2 separate regions of the Homo sapiens genome follow, and region 1 is linked to region 2. Evidence: promoter capture Hi-C in 16 types of primary human blood cells and fetal thymus (Javierre and others, 2016). All regions are on one chromosome and are shown on one strand. The core of a region is centred on a gene start or on the middle of the fragment in contact, and the rest is flanking DNA. Distances in the headings are between cores, read along the strand shown. Region 1 overlaps PROKR1 (prokineticin receptor 1). Region 2 holds the start of CNRIP1 (cannabinoid receptor interacting protein 1).

Region 1 (5,086 bases), core at 8-2,507, 330 kb after region 2:
TTTGTGAGAGAGGCTTCTAGCGATCGAGAGGTCACCAGGTGGGGGTAGGATTGGGGTTCCCCTCTGAACGGTGAGAATAAAGGAGAAAAGACCTCTGGACAATCATCCTTAATCTCGTGACGCCCTCCTCTCCACCCCCGAAGCTTCTGTATTCTTTGCTTTTAAACACTACTTTGACCCTTCAGGTAGCATGCTTGTAGGGGTACCCCTCCAGGAGTGGCATGCCTCTGCGACCCACGGGACCTGCAAGGAGTGGGGCTTGTCCCGCCTGGGTTCCAAGCCTGCCCCCCTCCTTCTTTTCAGCTGAGTTCTGCCTCTCCTCCCTGAGTGGGCAGAGGGCAAGGGCTGAGCCAGACAGAATTGAGAGCTCGGAGGAAGGAAAAAATCAGGGTAAGGAGTTAGGACAGAGAGGCAGCAATGGGGCTGAGCCTCACTGGGGCGCAGAGGGACTTTAAACTTGGCCCCAAGAAGACAGGCTCCAGATGTTTTGCCTCGGAGGAATATGGAGAGCAGGCTTTCCTGGGGGTGGGGAGGTGGGGTCCTGGGCATCTTCCTCATCTTCCTTTCCCAGGAAAACTCTGGCTTGCATTCTTCCCTCTGTTCTCCTGACATTTGTTTTAGGGTGCTCTCCAGACCTCAGCCCTCCTTCTACGTCCCACTCCCTGGTCTGATGTCTTCAGGGTTTGGGAGGGACTGCAGGGAGAGAGCAGGGGACAGGGGGACTCTGGCTGCCTCCCTGTCCCCACCAGGGCAGCTGACACCCCCCTAGACCCCTCACCCCAGCCCCATTATGTGGTGTGGTGGAGTCCCTGTATCAGGATTTCGCTCCCCTTCCTTGCAGCTGACAGAGGAGGCCTGAGAGCGCAGTAGTAACTCCTTGCAGTTCTAGGGTGTAACACTCTCCTCCAGGGAGCTCCAGGCTGTGCAGACATTATTGATCTCCTGCCTGGCAGAAGTTGAACCTCTGAGTGTTTAAGCTATTTACCCCTGGACACTCAACCAGCCAAGGAAAAATTTTGCTCTAGCGTCCCCATTCTCATCACTTGGTTAGTCACAGGCTGTGACTTTACCCTACAGCCTCTGTCTGGGGACAGGCCTTCATAAATGCTGTTCCCAGCTTCTAGGGTCATAGCAGGTTCTAATGTGGGAACAGGAAGTCCAGCAAATAGTGAGGAAGGTGGCTGCTCTATGGCTCTGTGATTTTAGAGCCATGTTCTGCCAGAAGAGCAAGGAGAGCAGACAGGCTTGTCTGAAAGCCCTCCCTCTTAAATAGCATTTAAAGAAATTTCTTTCTCTTCAGCCTCCCCACACTCCCAACTTTTGTCCTTGAGAAAAGGTGCAACACTTCTGAGTCTTCAGTGGAACAGAAATAAACTGAGCCAGTGCTTGATTGTCTCTATAGCAATCCACCCTTCCCTAATTGAGTATGTGGTTTTCATTCATTTTCTCTCATTGGTTCCTTTATTTCCACTCCATCACCCTATGTTCACTCTGGGCAGGGAGCTAATAGGTCTGCTTAGGTTACAGGGTGGTTTTGAATTTGGCCAGCTTTACTGCAACATATAGCCAACTGTTTGTATGTCTTTCAAAGGTTTAGAATGGAGCTCAGATACCATACCCCAAAGATGCTGGCAGAGACATTCTGACTCATTAAGGGAGAGCTGGCTGATAGCAGAGAGGGGTGACATCAGCCTTGCAGACATTGCCCTGGGGAATTCTGAGCAGTGTTGCTCACAGCACCACCTGGCCAGATGGAGACCACCATGGGGTTCATGGATGACAATGCCACCAACACTTCCACCAGCTTCCTTTCTGTGCTCAACCCTCATGGAGCCCATGCCACTTCCTTCCCATTCAACTTCAGCTACAGCGACTATGATATGCCTTTGGATGAAGATGAGGATGTGACCAATTCCAGGACGTTCTTTGCTGCCAAGATTGTCATTGGGATGGCCCTGGTGGGCATCATGCTGGTCTGCGGCATTGGAAACTTCATCTTTATCGCTGCCCTGGTCCGCTACAAGAAACTGCGCAACCTCACCAACCTGCTCATCGCCAACCTGGCCATCTCTGACTTCCTGGTGGCCATTGTCTGCTGCCCCTTTGAGATGGACTACTATGTGGTGCGCCAGCTCTCCTGGGAGCACGGCCACGTCCTGTGCACCTCTGTCAACTACCTGCGCACTGTCTCTCTCTATGTCTCCACCAATGCCCTGCTGGCCATCGCCATTGACAGGTGAGTGCAGCAGCAGTGGGGACAACAAAGGCGGTCAGGGAGGAAGGGGCATTGGAATTGCCCCCTCCTGTACTGCAGTTGCAGATTGATGAGAGGTGTCTCTATTCCCCCTAGATGTGGTTGCATGGGGGACTCAAAAGCTTGCCCATTGACTGACAGTGAGAAGAGTTCTCCTTTTCCAGCTTTGTTCAGACAGAAGACAGCAGAGCCCTCTAGAGTTGGGTGATGGGAAGCTTTTGATCTCCCTTGCTATGGATGTTTTCCTAGATATTACACCTTTCAAGGTCTAGAGTAGACAGGTAAGAGGAGATATCGAGGGAAACTTTAAGCGTCAGGCAGTTACCTCTTGAGTCAATGTGGAAATCTTGAAGGAGGTTTCTATCTCATCAAGACTTCCTCTACTAAAATATGACCTTCTAGCATCATCTGTTTTTAAATAAGATTCAAGGATTTATGACTGGCTGTGGTAAACAGTTCAAGCCTATAATCCCAGCAATTTGGGAGGCCGAGATAGGAGGAGCATTTGAGGCCAGGAGTTCGAGACCAGCATGGGCAACATATCCAGACCTCACCTTTTGAAAAAATTAAAAAATTAGCTGAGCGTGGTGGTGTGTGCCTGTAGTCCTAGCTAGTTGAGAGGCTGAGGCAGGAGGATCACTTGAGCCCAGGAATTCCAGGCTGCAGTGAGCTATGTTCATGCCACTGTGCTCCAGCCTGGGTGACAGAGGGAGACCTTGTCTCTAAAAAATAAATAAATAAATAAAAATAAAAAGATTGAGGGATTTGTTTTGAAAAAAAAGGGAACATATGTTTATTTACTTTTTGTTGTTGCATTAATCACTTTGCACCTTTTAGTCCATTTGCACAGATAGTGCAGAAGACCTGTTTCTGGTGATCGCAAATAAAATCAGTAAGAGCAGCCTCTGCATATCTTTCTTCAACTTAGTCTCTTCCTTTAGTGTAAACTTGTGCTAATGGGCCAGGCTGGTCTTTGTTCCTCGGGGGACAATCTTTGCTAGCTCCTCTGCCCACAGCTGGACTGTCATTACAAAGCACCTGGTTACAGTCTAGAGACAATTATCCTGAGGATCAAATCAGGCTTCTGTGTACTTGGATCTGAACAGCCTGTCTCTCTCCTTTAACCCAGAGAGCCTGAGGCATACATGCTCTCCCTGTTCTCTGGCCTCAAGGATCTGAGGGGGTTTGACCTGGCCCTCACAGTCAGGACAGTGTTCTAGGGAGGAGCACAGCTAAGAGAGCTTGTTTTCTGAGACCGTAGGCAGGGCGACCAGGGGTGGGATGACCGAAAAGGATAACCTGAAAAAAGGGGGTTACCAAGGAACCTCTGTCTATAAAACCGCTGAGGGGTGGAAACTCTGCCTCCCTTCTCTAGGGAAGGACATCAGGAAGTTAGCAGCTTACATAGCCCTTGGTCTGTCCCCGTAGATCCTTGCAGAGTGCTACTTCTTCTTGGCCAAATTCCCTCCACTGAATCACAGAGCCCTGCAGCTTTTCATTTACCTGGAGGCCAAATTCCCTCCACTGAATCAAAGAGCCCTGCAGCTTTTCATTTACCTGGACAAGGACCCCGCATGAACCCACTGAAGGAGCAGGAGGGGAGCAGTCAAGTAGAGTATCTACTTCGTAGGTTCCTTTCAAAGCTGCCAAGGAAGAGCTCCAGGGACTTTGTCTCTGAACTTTTTTGAAAGTAGAAGCCGCCACCTTCTCTCTTAGCCCATGAACAGGACAAAGCATACAGAGTCATTTCCTGAAGTTTCATACTAGCGAGAAACTACATGTGCTCAGCTACTAAAAGCAGGGTAGGGTGCCTCCTGTGGAGTGGGACCCTACTCCCCGGATGAGATCCATTTTACCACTTGAACGGAGTAACAATGGTAGGAGGAAGTAGCTTCAAGGGGAAAGGAAGCCAGGATACACTAAGGGGCATTGGGTTATTTGGAACATGTAAGAGTGATATCTATGTCAATCAGTCAGTCTCCATCTACTGAACTTCTTCAAGCTTATAACCTCCTTTCATACCAAACAGAGCTTGTCTGAAATACTGCAAGCATTTCTCTTGCAGTGTGAGTTTACACAAAGGAAATTAGATACAATAAGAAAGATGAATTAGAAAAAATGCTTTGCACCGTGGGAGCTTCTATGGTTGAGTGGGGTTATGATAGGAAGCTTGTACCCAGACCTCAAGGAAAGCACCATGTGCCTTCACAGGGCTGCCCAATGGTCTTGGTGGATGAATGGCTGCACCAATGCCCATTCTTTTATTGATGTTTGTGATCTTTGCTGCAATTATTTTTATTTGTATGTGTTGTTACCATCTAATTGTGGTCTAGGAATCATTAATTTTTCTCTGGTCTCACGTGTTGTTCAGGATTTGATCAGTTGGGAGCAACTAATTTTTATCTTGGTTTATAACAGATCTACTTAGTTGTAAAAATGTCTTTATTTTTGCTTAATGAAATTTCTGTAGCCATGTTGGCAGTTATTCTGCCTGGGTTTAAGTACCAGCTGTATTGTGTGTTGGGTATTATGTTAGTTATTTGACCTCTCTCTGCCTCAGTTTTCTCGCCTACAAAATGAGGATAAAAAGAAAGCCTATTGTATTGGGTTGCTTTGAGGATTGAATGAAATAAATATATTTAATTTCTTAGAACAATATTCAAAACAGTAAGCAATAAATAAACAGTGGATATGATAATTCTTAAATTAACCCTTATAGGAATGTCTACAACAAAAAAGCAGGTAAACTAATGAACATTTCTGACACACTAACCTTTTTGCTTTCATTGAAATTATTGTTTTTATGATGTGATTTAAAAAAAATACAAGATT
Region 2 (5,616 bases), core at 2,929-5,428:
ATCCAAGTGATCCTCCTGCCTCAGCCTCCCAAGTTGCTGGCACTACAGGTGTGGTATCACCACACCCGGTTAACTAAAAAAAATTTTTTTAGAGACAGGGTCCCACTATGTTGCCCAGGCTCACACATATATATTCAAAGACATAGAAACAACTTTCTAAGAACATTTATTGACATGTTAACAACACTTCTCTCTTGCAGGAATTATACATTTCCCTCATTTTTGTATTTTTCTGTGTTGAAGGTTCTTTGACAGAACAAGAGCACTTTCTAAAAATAGTTCAAACATTGGATGCAAAGGGATGAGCTGCTAGATTATTTCCTTATGTGACTATTGTGGTTTTAAAAAGTATAATGGGGACTGGGAACACTTTAAGTTTCCAAAGGTTAGATAGGCATTTCTCAAAGTGCATTCCCACACCATCCTCTTCAGGATCTGGTATGCTTGCTAAGAGTTTCTCTGTCCCCACCCTAGCTCTACTGAGCTAAGATCACTGGAGAGGGAACCTAGGACTGGAATTTTAAACAAACTCCCAAAGAGATTCTCACGCATACCGATATTTGAGAACCCTTGTGATACTTCCTATAAAGCTAGAGGGCAGACAGTTGAAGGTTGTTCTTGCAGAGGGAAAAGGCTGCCCAGTTTGCAAGCAGCAGTTTAGGTGAAGCTTCCTTTTCCTGTGCTTTAGCAAGCTTGCTTCATCACCTATTTATTATGTTTGCACATATAGTTAAATCTATGTCTTGACTCTATCCTTTCTACCAATTTGTTTTTTCTTACTTGGGGCCATATTACCAGGGTATATCATTTTATTATATATGATATCTGATAGGATTACCAGATATTATATATAATAGGTATATATAATATAGGTATATATATATTATATAGGTGTATATATAATAGGTATATATTATATAAAATAGGTGTATTATAGGATATTATATAAGAGGTGTATTTTTCCCATGACACTTTTTTTGGCTCCTCCATTTAGCTTTAAGTAGCAAAGTGTCATTCAAATCAGCTTTCTCTTAACCAGAATATTGTGGCCTACTTGGAATCAGAAACTTTTCACAGCCAATTATCTAAACCAGTTCTGAAGTAGACTATAACTGGGAAAATGGCAATGTAGGTTCTGTCTCTTCCAGAACCATCTGCTTCTGCTTATGGTGTCTTTTCAGCATCTACAGGGTCAGTCTGTCATGCAAAAGAGCATTAATTAAGTAGTTCTCTCTCCAGCAGATGCTTGAAGGAAATCCACAACTCAATTTCCACAGTAATTGGCTCCCAACACACCTTTTCTTACAGAGAGATAGTGATTGTTTTCTTTTCTGTGGTTTCCATTTTCCATGGCACCATACTCCTATACCCGCAAGCAAGCCTTACCGGCATGGTGATCTGGATGGGTTGCCGTTCTCCACTCTTCGTTGGGGTCACACCTTCTGTGTCATATGTACCCGTATAAACAACTCTGTCCCCATCAGGCTCTTTAGACTTCAGTTCCAGTGGGACAAGCACACCACCAATGGAAATATTCCTGCAATAGACTTGAGTTGACCACATACGGTTGAAATTAGCCTAGGCACCCTGTCCTGTTTTGGACCAAAACTCTAGGCAGGAAACTTACAGGGTTTCACTAAGGGGGGCATTGTGGTGCGGGAGAAAGTTCTGCAAGTTCAGGGGGCAGTGCTTCTCCTATTTATGAATTAAAAACCTACCTATCCCCAGCCCCAGACATTAGGATTCAGTTGGCCTGGGATGTAGTTTGGACACTGGTACATTTATTTTAAGGTTATCTAGGTGATCTTAATATGCAGGTAGGATTGAGAATACTGAACTCGTCCTCTAATATTTTTTTTCTCCTGTTCCAACAATCAGGGGTCCTATGATTTGGAGTACCTCAAGCCTTCTACACCATCAGAAATTCTCACTGGCATCATTCTTTTGTGTTAGGATAATGGTTCTCAAAGCCAAGTCCCTGGACCAGCAGTATCAGCATCACCTGCAGACCTTAGAAAACAAATTCTTAGGCCCTACCATAGACTAAACTAGAACTTCTAGGGAGAGCTCCAGCATCTGTGTTTTAACAAGCACTCCAGGTGATTCTGATATATACTCAGGTTTGAGAACCACAGGATTAGAGTTGAGAAATCCTTGATAGCATTAAAATGTAACCAGAAAAAATAGTTTTATTCCTAACAAATTAACTTTTAGATTAGTTTGAACACTAGAGGAATACTCTAAAAAAAAAAAAAAGAAATATATTAACAGATAACTCCGGGGATAAGGTTGGCAGGAAAGAAGGGAAAGGAAAAGCCTGGATTATATCCAGGTGCACAGAACACTGGGAAATGTGAGAATAAAGGGTGCATGGAGCTGTGGGGGATGCTGACAAATAGATGAATCAGGAGTACCAGAAACCATCCAGATTTGGTTCTAGGTCCTTGCACCTTGGAAGGCTAATACAAGTTTACTGAATTAAAACGTAAGCTATAAGTAGTATCTGATGAATTCAAAGTCCTTCCACCCCCGCAATAATGCCCACCATATGTAGTAGATACAATAAATGCTGGTTTATTTTCTCTCTGCAGACTAGACTTTGGTAGGTAGAAACGAGAGGTAAAGGGGCTCCACCCGCAGTTCTTCCGGGTAGGCTACTGCATGCTCCCACACACTTTCCCGCCAGAGGTCTACTGGGTGCATTATCCAGCGGTCGCTGGCAAGAAATCGTCCCTGCCATGGATAAACCAAAAAACATCCTCTTGCTGTGGGGATGTTGCTAATCCCAGGCACCATCACCAGCCTGAACAGAAAACTCAGGAGAAAAAGAACAGCATACGGCATGGAAAACCGTGAAACTAGGCCAGAGAAGGGGCGGCCGCTCTCTTACTAGTGTCTGCTGCTCCACCCCAGGGTCCCAGCCACTGAATGGCGAAGGGAGTGGGGAGCATCCCTCAGGGAGCCCCAGTAATCACCCCTCCCCTGCCTTTCCACCTCATTCCTCCTTTCTCCCTCCTTCAGCCTTGCGGGCAGACCCTGTGGGCCGCCTGGACCGCGCGCAGGAGGGCTGGGATTGCGGTGGCTGAACCCTGCGGACCTCTCCCATCTGCTCCACCCCGACCGCCTGCGGTTCCGCGCCCAAGGCTGGACAGAAGGCAGGAGAAATTTATAAGAAACAGACAAGCAAAAACCCTGGCTTCTTGTCACTGATTTTAAAGAACCCACTGAGGTCACTGCGATGGGTGGAGGGAAGCGAGAATGGAGGAATACAAGCCAAAGGGAAGGAAGGGGACGAAGGCGGACAGGGAGTGACCTCTTCCTCCAACCCCCGGGCCCGCTGGGAGCGGCGCGAGGCCAGAGGCCCTTGAGAGGCTCGGGCTGTCCTGGGGGCCTCAGTCCTCTGCCTGTACCCCATGGGGGACCCTGCTGCCACCAGGCGCCCCGCACTCACTCGACCTGCAGCGTGCTGGGTTTAATCTTCACCTCAACCTTGTAGGAGGAGCCGGTGAGCAGCTTGATGGTGCGGTTCTGGCCGAAGCGCTGCCCGTCCACCTTGTAAAAGACCGGGCCGTCATTAGGCTGGATGCGCAGCGCGATGGAGAGGCGCACGAGGCCCGGCAGGTCCCCCATGTCTGGGCGAGGGTCTGGCGCGGCGGCTCCGGGGGGCGGAGGACAGCGCCGGCTGCGGCCGAGTGGCTGGAGCGCGAGGGGCGGAGAGGAAGCGCGGGGAGGGTGAGGGAGGTGGTGGAGCTGAGGCTGCCGCTAGGAACCCGCGCCGTCGCCGCCGTCCGCCCGGGCTTTTGAGGAGCAGCTCCTTAGGCTGTGGCCCCCCTCCCCACTCGGCGAGGAAGCGGGCCCAAGAGACGGCTCCAAGGCCGCGCGCTTCCCCATCCCCCGCTCCAGTGCTGCGCCCTCCACGCACCCGAAGGCTCGCTCTGGCCCGCAGGCCGCCGCGCAGATCCGCGCAGCTGGGGGCGAGGGAGTTAATCCTGTTTACGCACCACAATCCCCTTCAGCTGGGGAAGCGGACATTTAGGCTCCTCCTAGAACAGCCCCGGGCAGGAGGAGGAGAGGTTTGGGAGGCACTGGGAAGGCGCTGGAGTTAAGCGACCACTATGCCAAGGAGCGAGACCCCCGGAATCTGGATACCGCCTCGGCCAGCTACGTGAGGTGGACACTGCTGCTCGCGGATCCGGCGCCAGCCAGGCGGGAGGAGGCTGAGGGGGGGTAAAGGGAGGCGGGAAGGGGGGACAGGAAACCGCTAGCCGGTGATTTAAATTTCAGGAAATATGAGTCTTTCCAAAGCTTAGGGGAAATGGCCGAGGAAAGGCGCAATTCCACGTGATGGAGCCACGCTGGATGAGGAATGGATGCAAGAGGAAGAAAATAACCATATTCAAGGAGCTACATCTTCTTGTGGGTGTACATTTCCATTATACGTATGCTCGTCCCAAAAATGACACATACATAAATATATGTAATGAATCACATATATTTACACAGATTTTGAAGGGTGAGCTATTAACCCTGTAAAAGGCAACTGACATGAGCCTAAGGCATTCTGGTGACAAAATGGCCAAGAGGTGGGATGGGTCAAAGGATTATTGGCAGGGGGCCATATGCGACACCGCAGAGTTTAGATTTGCATATTAAGCGTGATTAGACAGTTTTCGTGGCAGAGGTCGGTAGACAGCTGACTTTTGGAAGCGAGGGGAGACTCAGGGGGTGAGGACTATACTGGGAATGGCTTCCCGGAGCAGAGAGAGCACCTGCTTCAGCACCACCCAGATGGATAGTACCAGAGCCAGGGAGCACACCTGGGAAATGAAGTGGGCTAGTGAGAACAAATGGGTAGGGATGCGTTTCCTTGGCAGTTTTTGTTTACCCAAGTTAGACTGCTCTTTTTTAAGAAATAATAAGCTATACATATAATATATATGTAATATGGGTGTTTATTGCAACATTGGTTGCAAAAATAAAAATAAAACCTAAATGAAATGTTAACCAATAAATAAATGGCTGAATAAATTCTTATATACCCACACTATAGAACGTTACACAACTATCAAAATAATGAAATATAGGTTGCATTGGCAAACACACAGGCAAAAACTGTTAATGATAAAAGTGGGATGGCTGGGAAACAAAGCCTGAGGGCGAGCATTTTGTCTGTTTTGTTTGTTGCTGTTTCCCCAGCATGCCAAAATAGTGCCTGACACATAGTAGGTGCTCCAGAAATCGTTGTTGAATTGACTTACGGTTGTGGTCTTAATCATGTCCATATGTAAATTCTTTCACATCTTTAAAATTAATTAGATCCTTGCGATTTACCTGGAATGATGAAAAGAAATCTAATTGCAAGTAGCATCTCTAGTGTTTTAGAAAAATGAAAATTTAAAAAGAATATAAATGTGTATGTTTGTATTAGCTCTTTTAAAAGAATGAGAGAGTTACACAGTAAACTTAATGTTGGTTATTATGGTTTATGAGTAGTGGAAAGAGGGTGAGTATCTTTTTGGGGTCATTTAAAAGCCTTTTTGGAAATTTTGCCTTTTTTCCTCAACCTTTTGTTTAGCAACCCCACAATCTCAAGCCAACTTCCACCTGTGTATCAAA

Evidence for each region. Contacts are between HindIII fragments. The CHiCAGO score rates a contact against its expected background, and 5 or more counts as called.
Region 1: a fragment that was not itself captured here is called in contact with the fragment with the promoter of CNRIP1 in region 2 in 1 of 17 cell types (erythroblasts); the score reaches 6.5 in erythroblasts.

What each region holds. Positions count from the first base shown.
Region 1 is chr2:68,644,071-68,649,156 of GRCh38, forward strand. It overlaps PROKR1 (prokineticin receptor 1), which reads left to right. Exons shown (of 3, transcript NM_138964.4): 2 at 1,592-2,236. The coding sequence starts at 1,752. Among named protein-coding and RNA genes, the nearest start is that of PROKR1, 3.0 kb to the left of the region's middle. The HindIII fragment of the contact is 2,233 bases long and covers 142-2,374 here.
Region 2 is chr2:68,315,771-68,321,386 of GRCh38, forward strand. CNRIP1 (cannabinoid receptor interacting protein 1) reads right to left here and starts at 4,179. Exons shown (of 3, transcript NM_015463.3): 1 at 3,452-4,179; 2 at 1,387-1,537. The coding sequence starts at 3,630. The HindIII fragment of the contact is 3,613 bases long and covers 691-4,303 here.